Linked DNA regions of Homo sapiens: region 1 is linked to region 2. The links are contacts of gene promoters, found by promoter capture Hi-C in blood cells and fetal thymus (Javierre and others, 2016). All regions are on one chromosome and are shown on one strand. Each heading gives the region's core, a stretch centred on a gene start or on the middle of the fragment in contact. The rest is flanking DNA. Distances are from core to core; before and after follow the strand shown.

What was found. The method cuts DNA at HindIII sites, captures the fragments that hold promoters and counts their contacts. A CHiCAGO score of 5 or more calls a contact.
Region 1: a fragment that was not itself captured here is called in contact with the fragment with the promoter of PGAM2 in region 2 in 1 of 17 cell types (endothelial precursors); the score reaches 5.5 in endothelial precursors.

Annotation. Positions count from the first base shown.
Region 1 is chr7:44,314,405-44,318,977 of GRCh38, forward strand. The region is part of intron 1 of CAMK2B (calcium/calmodulin dependent protein kinase II beta); the gene reads right to left. Among named protein-coding and RNA genes, the nearest start is that of CAMK2B, 8.9 kb to the right of the region's middle. The HindIII fragment of the contact is 2,158 bases long and covers 2,242-4,399 here.
Region 2 is chr7:44,063,584-44,068,338 of GRCh38, forward strand. It overlaps PGAM2 (phosphoglycerate mutase 2), which reads right to left and starts at 1,984. Exons shown (of 3, transcript NM_000290.4): 1 at 1,533-1,984; 2 at 1,249-1,429. The coding sequence starts at 1,946. DBNL (drebrin like) reads left to right here. Exons shown (of 13, transcript NM_001014436.3): 13 at 1-4,755. RefSeq lists enhancers at 567-676, 1,321-1,380, 1,571-1,620, 1,681-1,750, 4,601-4,670 and a silencer at 2,931-3,000. The HindIII fragment of the contact is 4,752 bases long and covers 507-4,755 here.

The DNA.
Region 1 (4,573 bases), core at 2,071-4,570, 250 kb after region 2:
AGCATGACGTTTTGAACGTTCGTCCACATTTCAGCATGTGTCGGTGCTTATTAGCATTTCATTCCTTTTTATGCCTGAATAATATTCCACTGTATGACTATAACACATTTTTCTCACGCATTCAATCAGCTGGTGGACATCTGGGCTGTTTCTACTTTTTGGCTATTATGGATAATGCTGCTATGAACCAGTTTTTGTGTGGACATATGTTTTCATAGCTCTTGGGCATATACCTAAGAATAGAACATTTTGAAGACCCACCAAAGTATTTTTCATAGTAGCTGTGCCATTTTACATCCTCACCAGCAATGAATGAGCATTCCAACTTCACACCCTCACCAACACTTGCTATTATCTGTCTTTTCGACAGTAGCCATCCTAGTAAGAGTGAAATGGCATCGCATGATGGTTTTGAATTGCATTTCCATAATGATGCCAAAATCTTTTCATGTGCTGTGGGCTATTTGTTACCTATTTTAGAGAAATGTCTAAGTCCTTTGCCCATTTTTTAATTAGGTTGTTTCTTCTTACTGTTAGGTAGTAAAAGTTCTTAAAGTATTCTGAATACAAATTCCTTACCAGACAGATGGTTTGCAAATATTTTCTCCCATTCTATGGACTATTCTATTCCACTTTCTCAATGGTGTCCTTTGAATACAAAAGTTTTCACTGTTAATGAAGCCCAACAGCAAAACTATTTTTCTTTCGTTGTTTATGCTTGTGGTGTCATATCTAAAAAACCATTGCCTAATACAAAGTTGCAAAGATTTACTCTTATGTTTTCTTCTAAGAATTCTGTGATTTTAGCTCCTACATTTAGATCTATTATTTATTTTGAAATAATTTTTGTATATGGTGTCAAGTACAGCTCCAACTTCATTCTTCTGCATGTGGATACTCAATTGTCCATTTGTTGAATGGACCGTTATTCTTCTCCACTGGAATTGTCTTGGCACCCTTGTAAAAAATCAACTGAACATAGATGTATGGATTTATTCTACACTCTCAATCCTATTTCACTGATCTATGTATTTATCCTTATGTCAACACCACACTGTCTTGATTGCTGTAACTGTGTAGTTAGTTTTGAAATCAGAACCCGTGAGTCCTCTGACTTTGTTCTCCTTTTTCAAGATTGTTTTAGCTATTTTGGGTCTCTTGCATTCCTATGTGAATTTTAGGGCCAGGTTGTCAATTTTTGCAAAAAACGCAGCTGGAATTTTCATAGCAAAAATGTAGGTCAATTTGGAGTATACTACTATTTAACAATATTAAATATTCCAATCCATGAACATGGGATGTCTTTCCATTAATTTAGGTCTTCTTTAATTTCTCTCAACAGTGGTTTGTGGTTTTCAATGTACAAGTCTTGTACTTCTTTTATTAAATTTAGTATTAAGTGTTTTATTTTTTAGATGCTATTGTAAATTGTTTTTCCTAATTTTGTTATTTTGAACTTCTAGTCCATTGAAATACAATGGATTTTTGTATATTGGTCTTACATCTTGCAACTTTGCTAAATTCATTTTTTAGTTCTAATAGTTTTTTAAATGGATTCCTTAGGATTTTCTATATACGAAAGCATGTAATCTGAAAAGAGAGGTAGCTATAACTATTTATTTCCAATCTGGGAGCCTTCTATCTCTTTTTCTTGCCTAATTGCCCTGGCTAGAATCTCCTATACCGTGCTGCCTAGAAATGGAAAGAGCAGATACATTCAGTTTTCCACCATTAAATATGAGGTTAGCTGCAGATTTTTCACAAATGTATTTTATCAAGTTAAGGAAGTTCCTTTCTACTTGTCATTTGTTGAGTTTTTATCATGAAATGGTATTGGTTTTTTTTTAAATGCTTTTTCTGCATCTATTGAAATGGTTCATATAGTTTCAATGTTTGTTCTATCAACGTGGTGTATTATATAGATTGATTTTTGTATGCTGAATGAACCTTTCATTCTTGGGATACATCCTACTTGTTCATAATGTATAAATAATCCTTTTTATATGTTGCTAGATTTATTTTGCTAGTGTTTTGTTGAGGATGCTTCATCTGCATTCATAAGTGATAACAGTCTGTAGTTTTGTGATATCTTTGGTTTTGGTATTAGGGTATTGCTGGCTTCACAGAATGAATTGGAAAGAATTTCCTCCTCTTCTACTTTTTGGGGGAGCTTGTAAAAGACTGGTATTAATTCTTCTTTAAATGTTTGGTAGGATTTACCAGTGAAATTATCTGAGCCTAAGCTTTCCTTTGTGGGAAAATTTTAAATTACTAAGTCAGTCTCTACTTGTTATAGGTCTATTCAGATTTTCTATTTCTTCTTGAGCCAGATTCAGTAGTTTGTGTCTTTCTAAGTATTTGTCCATTTCATCCAGGTTATCTAACTTGAGGGCACATAATTATTCATAGTTATTTCCTTATAATTTTTTTTCTGTAAGGTTGGCAGTAAGGTCCCCTGTGTCATTCCTGATTTTAGCAATTGGAGTCTTCTTTTTTCTTGGCTTTACCATCCTTTTTATAATAATAACCTTCCTCCTAACTAGCACTCCTGAGTCTTCTTAATTATTCTCAGAGGTATTAATCACCTTCTACCCTATCATATAATTTTTTTAGTATTTATGTTTATTGCCTGCCTCTATCCAGCAGTATATAAGCTCCCTAAGGGCAGGCATCCTTGACTGCTTTGTTCACTACTGTTTCCCAAGCACCTATGGCACATGGTAAGTACAGGCAACCAGACTTGCTGAATAAATGAATAAGTCTTCAGGAGAGCAAAAGAAATCTGGAACAGACTAAGACAGCTATGACTGTAACTATTATCCTTAAAAGAAACCAGGAAAAATGAAAAAAAAAAAAAAAAGCATGGTGATTTTGAAGCTCTGGCCCTGTGTTGTCCAATACTGTGGTCACTGTCACCATGTAGTCATAAGAACCTGGTCCAAACTGAGATGTGCCGTAAGGGTAAAATACACACCAGATTTCAAGACGTAGTACAAAAAGGAATGCAAAATAGCTTAATAATTTCTGTTTTGATTACATGTTGAAATGATTTTTTAATTTTTGTACAGATGGGGTTTTGCCATGTTGCCCACGGTCTCTAACTCCTGGGCTCAAGTGATCCACCCACCTTGGCCTCCCAAAGTGCTGGGATTACAGGCACGAGCCACCGCACCAGGCCTCTGAATGATATTTTGGATATAAAGTTAAATAAATATATTTTTAAAGTTCCTTTCACCTGTTTCTTTTTTTTCTTTACGTACTAGAAAATTTTTAATCACACATATGGCTCAACTTTGTATCACATTTTATCTCTTCTGGACAATGCAGCTCTCGACAACTTGGATGGGGTGGGCGGTGGGGTAGTAATGTCATTGTGAATGTAGAGAAAATGAAGGTAAACTTCAAATTCATGCCTAGGTGGGCTCTGAAAGAACCAAGGGTTATATGAAGGAGTGTGGGCTTAGGCGAGTGTCTGGCCTCAGGTGCAGACTCCTCTGCAGAGTCTAGGTATGCAGTGCCCATTGGAATCACCTGGGAGCTTTTAAAAACTGCTGATACCCCATTTCCCTAGTGTCTGGCTAAATGCGATGGGGCCTGAACACTCCTCAGGGGCTTCCCATGTGTGGTTGGGGTTGAGAACCACCACATGGTCATCTTCTTTGGGAGGGCCTGCTCCTAACCAGACTCCTACCCTTTGCCCAGAAAGCCCCTAACTAATGGCCTGGATCAAACTCACAGACGCTGAGAATCAGGCAGCACCTCAACAAACAAGAAGTCATGTGAACAACCTCATTAAGAAATTAGCTGAAAGCTGCAAGCCTCTTGGAGTCAAGCTCCATGACAGACATATAAGTGCTGACAGCCCTGCTACTGCATTTCACCGGGTGACAAGACTGTCTACCCAGACTGGACATCAGAATACCCGCAAGACCTACCTGCAGAGCCACCCAATACCTCTTATAAGGCCCTCATCTTTTACAGGGTGGGTGTGCCACTGCTCTGGGAAGCAGTCCCAGGTGCAAGGCCTGAGTGACCCAGACCATTGCTGAGTCACTGTGGAGCACCTACTGTGTGCCAGGCACTGTTCTCAGCACTTGAATTCAGGGTGTGTTGGGTGACAGAATCAAGGCTCCTCAGCTCCTTGCTGGAAACGGCACTCACTGGGATGTGCTTGACACCCAGAGGGCATTACAGCAAAAGGCATAACACCTGCAGTACTTCATTGTAAGGGCGACAGCAGCTCCTGCCCTCCAGGCTTCTCTTGCTGCTCACAAAGTGAGGAAACAAGGACTGTGGGTCCCAAATTCCACCCTGTACAAGTGTGCCATTATGCTTCCTCCCATAAAATCTTCTTAAATCTTTGCCTGGTTGTTGCCAATCTGTTCTAGAATTCAACAAAAGCTTCTGTCTGGCTTAACAAAGAATCATAACTTAAGTTATTTTTGGATAATTATGTCAATACAAAAAGAACTATGTCCACCAGGAACTGAGCCCTCAACAAGTGACCCTCTAACCCAGGAGACAAAAGCCACCCAAAAGTTTGGCAGCTAGCAACACCACCTTTCTCTAACAT
Region 2 (4,755 bases), core at 734-3,233:
TTGGTTTCTAAAGTGCTCTAAATTCTAGACATCCTGAACAGAGGAGCAAGTGCGGAATGGAGCTGGAGGAGGGACAGGGAGGCCGAGCCTGGTCGAAACCTGACCCTGCCTGCCTCCTGCAGCCCCTGAGCTGGGAATAGCAGCTCGACCTTTGATGTTCGCGCCACTCCACCCCTGCTCCGTGCAGGAGGGTTTAAGAAAATGTTCTCTGGGGAGTCAGAGTGAAATCCCTCATATTCACCACCAAAAGTGCGTCCCCTTTCCCCAAACCAGGCTGTGGGAGGGTCATGGGGCTGCATGAAGTCTCCGGAAGGGAGAGGAGGCAGGTGGTCCTTCCCTCTGCCTGGCCCCAGTGCCAGGTGCCAGGTGTCCGTGTTTGGAGCGGGCAGGCTTGGGGCTGGCTGGGTCTCCGGGGCCTGCCGGTCTGGGTGCTCTGGCCAACTGCCCAACGGCCCTAGGAGCAGGAGGTCTGGGGCACACCCTTCTAGCCTTTCCAGGACTCAACAAGCTTTAAGGTCATTCAGATGCTAATTTAGACTGCCCTTGTGTCAGAATACTAAGGTGGGAGGCGGAGCGGAGGTGCCAGTCACTCTGGGCGAGGCCTTACTGCGCCCATGCATCCCGGGCCCATTTGTCAGCCCTTGCTCTTCAGTGGGAGCCCAGCTGCAAGCCCAGAGTCTGGCCACTCCATAGTCCTGCACCCCTCTTTTGATTGGTCTTTCCTTTGCCCAGAGAGGGGCTCCAGAGGGAGATAGGTGGTGAAGCTCATGCAGGGATTCTGAGGACCTGATGGGGGAGGGCCCTGCGAGGGGTCCAAGCCTACATCAAGAGGAATTCAGTACCAGGGGGAGCTCCCCACCACCCCGGAAAAGGGAGAGGCCCAGAGATGGAGGTGGCTTGTCCAGGGCCCCACAGTAAGTTGGGATTTGGAGCCAGATGCTCTAAGCCCAGCCCTTCCGTTTCCTAGCTGGGTGTCCCTTGGCAGATGCCACCTTTGGAGCCTGCCCCACCTCGGGACACAGCGAGCTTCGAGTGCAGTCAGCCCCTGTGGAGTGTGTCCCAGTTACACAGAAATGGGGAAAATTTCACAAAACTAAAAAATGGCTTCTCAGCCCTCCTTTTTCAGTGAATGATGTGGAGCCCCACGCCTAGAAAGCCTGGTCCATGGGCGAGAGACTTTGCTGAGATGAGAAGCCAGCTGGGGCTGCTGCCCACCCACCCTGCCCAGGCTCCTGAAGGTGGCCTCACCTTCCAGGTGCTTGACAATGCCCCGCAGGCTGTTCCCGTGGGCTGCAATGAGCACTCGCTTGCCGGCCTTGATCTGGGGAACAATCTCCTCGTTCCAGAAGGGCAGGGCCCGGGCAATGGTGTCCTTGAGGCTCTCGCAGGTGGGGAGTTCCCCGGGCTTCAGGCCTGCGTACCGACGCTCCTGGGGGACACAGGCACGCTGCTTTCCCTCCCAAGCCAGTGGGCCCCCACCCGACTCCCCACTCTGCAGCTTCCCAGAGGCCTTCCCAGCAAAGGCAGCCCACCTTGCTAATGGAGTTGTAGTAGGGGTGCTTCTCGTCCATCGGGGGCGGCGGGATGTCGAAGGAGCGCCTCCAGATCTTCACCTGCTCCTCCCCGTGCTTGGCGGCCGTTTCTGCCTTGTTGAGGCCTGTGAGGCCCCCGTAATGCCGCTCATTGAGGCGCCAAGTGCGCACCACAGGCAGCCACATCTGGTCCGTGCCGTCCAGGATGGCCCAGAGGGTGCGGATGGCCCGCTTCAGCACTGACGTGTAGCAGATGTCAAACTCCATCTTGGCATCCTTGATGGCCTTGGCTCCCCGCTTGGCCTCCTCGGTCCCCTTTTCACTCAGCTCTGCATCGAACCAGCCACAGAAACGGTTCTCCTGGTTCCATGTGCTCTCGCCGTGCCGGACCATCACGAGGCGGTGAGTGGCCATGGTGGCAGCAGGGACCACAGAGGACTCTGGACGGGGACGGCTGCTTCCCAACACTCCCAGCTTTATAATAGTGTCTTCCCAGCCCCCACCCACCCCAGCCAACTGCCAATCAGCATTCCAGGCGGTGGCAGGTGACCAGTAGCTGAGCTGCTGGGGGCTGGGGGCCAGGGGAGTGTGCAGGCCAAGAGGCTGTGCTTAAAATAGCCCCACGCATCCACCAGCTCCTGGCCTGGGTTCAGGTGGCATGTCTATAACCAGCTGGCACCCAGAGCCCAGACTGAGTGGGGCTGCTGGTCAGGGATGGGCGTGAAGGGCAGAAGTCTGGGCCAGGGGAGATGGGGATAGCAGGGACAGAGGGGCTCTCCAGGGCAACGCTCAGTGGCCTATCAGCCATTCTCTGCTCAGACAGAGGCACAAACAAAATCCCAACCCCTTTCTCCTGTGATTGGCAGCCAGGCTAGGAGGCGGCCCTCAGCAGGCAGAGGAGGAGAGCCAGAGGAGCTGGTGCAGACCACAGCTTTGTGGAGAGGAGTCTGGCCTTGTGGAAGGTACCAGGCAGCAGCAGCAGAATGGGCAAGGGCTGGGGCTGAGCCGGGTTTCCAGGACAAAGGGGGAAAGGGCCCCTGTCTTTCCTCCGGGGTCCCTTTGTCAAGGTCTCATCCATACATGCCCCATGCTCCCACCCTATCTGCCCTCACCCAAGCCACGCTCACTCTCCTAGCCGAAACCACCTTGAAAAAGAGAAATCCAAGGGGGTTTGGGGGCAGGACTGAGGACTGTCAGAAGTCTTGATTGTTAGGTAAATGCTCAGCTTAGCAGGAACCCACAACGTAGGCTGAAGGGTGGCACGGAGTTGAGTCTAGGACCAAGACTTCTGCATTCAGGTTTGGGGGATGAGAGCCACCAAGGCAGGGAAGAGACTATGAGCAATAAAGTCACAATTGGGGCCCTAATGAAGGGGCCATGGCCAGACCCTTGGGCATGGGCCCCATCCAGGGCCTCCCATTTCCTCCCACCCCAGTGACCACACTGTCACCTGCGACACTTCTGATAACAGGAGCGGGTAGGTGAGAGGCCAGCAGAGGGACCACCACTCTGAGACTTGGATCTGAGTGTGCAAGAAACCCTCGACAGGCCTCCCTCCATCCCTGCTGGCCTACCTGGGGAGGGGCTCCTGGCTTGGGGCCTGTGAAGCTAAGGCTCTGTACCCAAAGGTTGGCAGACAAGTCCCAGTGGGCAAAGTCCTGTCGGCTGCCAGGACCCCCAAGGCTGGCAGGTGGAACCCATCCCTCCTAGCAGTGCCATGCGCAGGTCTCACTGTTCCACACTGATCCTGATTGAAGCCACATCTCCTCATCTGCTTTTGTCCCTTTGACCAAGAGTTGATTCACTAGCCCAACTAAACATGACTGAGGACCAGGCTCTGGCAGTCCCACAGGGGCCAGACATGAAGCCCATATTTCAGTGGAGGAGGGATCGTACCAGCAGCTAAACATGCCTACCGTAGATAGCACCAGATGCTAGGAAGGAAGGACCATAATGTACTGGGAGAGATGGGAAAGGAGAGGCCGGGGACAGCCCTGAGGTGACATGTGAGTGGAAAGAGCGGAGTGCAAAGGCCTCAGCTATGATGAGTCCTACAGGGAGAGCAATTCAGGTAGAGGGGTTGGCAAAGACCCAAGCCCTACAGAAAGCAAACAAGCTGGGGCAGCGACCATCAGGGGCACATGGCAGAGAGGTGGGCTTTGTGTCCCAACACAGTGGGAATCACTGGAGACTTTGAAGCATGGTCATATTTTCAAGTCACTTGCAGCTGTGTAGGAGTGGAAGTAGAAGCTGAGTACCCTGCAGGTCTCGGCAGCTTTGATGAGAACAAGGCCGCTTAGCCAGGGCTGGGTGCAGAAGCAGTGGCAAGGATCCCCCAGACCTGGGAGACCTCACTGCCAACCAAGCAGGAGGTGTCAAAAAGGAAAGGGGAGCCCAAAGAAGGGCTGGACTTCGGGGAAGCAAGCCCCTGCTTCTGACCCTTGGCTCCGGCTTGACTTTCCTTTGATTCATTTGACAAGTAGTTGCTGGCCTCTGCAGTGTGCCAGAGCTTTCTTGGAGGGGTACAGGGGTAGGAAAACCAAAAGCCACCCTCAGGGCCTCCATCCAGGAAGGCATAGCATGGTGGGCGGCGAGGAAGGCTGCTGAGTCAACAAGGTGGTCCCAGGAAGGTGGAGGGAGCATCTTCCCATGTCTCTCCCACTGACAGCCACCAATCCTGGACAGATGCAGGAGCAGCTGTCAGTAGACAGATAAGAAAAGGAGATCAGATTCAAAGTTCCGCAGAGAAGTGGTGAGGTAACAAGTATTGCCTAGCCTGGACACACAGGCGGCTTGAAACCTCAAGTGCACCAACAGAAAGAGCTCCAGGAAGAATCAGAGGAGTGGGATGTGAAGCCCCTCGAAGTCAGTGAGTTGGGGGAATCCCTCCAATTTTTCTTTTCTTCTCTACCCCAGCTCCTGGGCAGTAACATGGAGGTGGCAGTGGTGGCACAGTGACGGTAGTGTGAGCTGGGTACGCACTTGAAACCTGAGAGGGTAACGCTACCCTCTGTCTAGAGGAGCCATGGCCCCAAAAGCATGGGGCAACCACCTTCTGCAGCTCCTTTCTGCCCCCCTGCGCTGGGCCCTGGATGCAGTTTCAGGGAGTATGCAGCAGGGTAGGTAGGGAAAGAGCCCCAGATTTGTGGCTGGAGGTCTTGGTAGGGATGTTGCAGGGAGCTGTTGTGTTTCAGGGAGAGTACAGAGAAGGGAGAGATGAAGT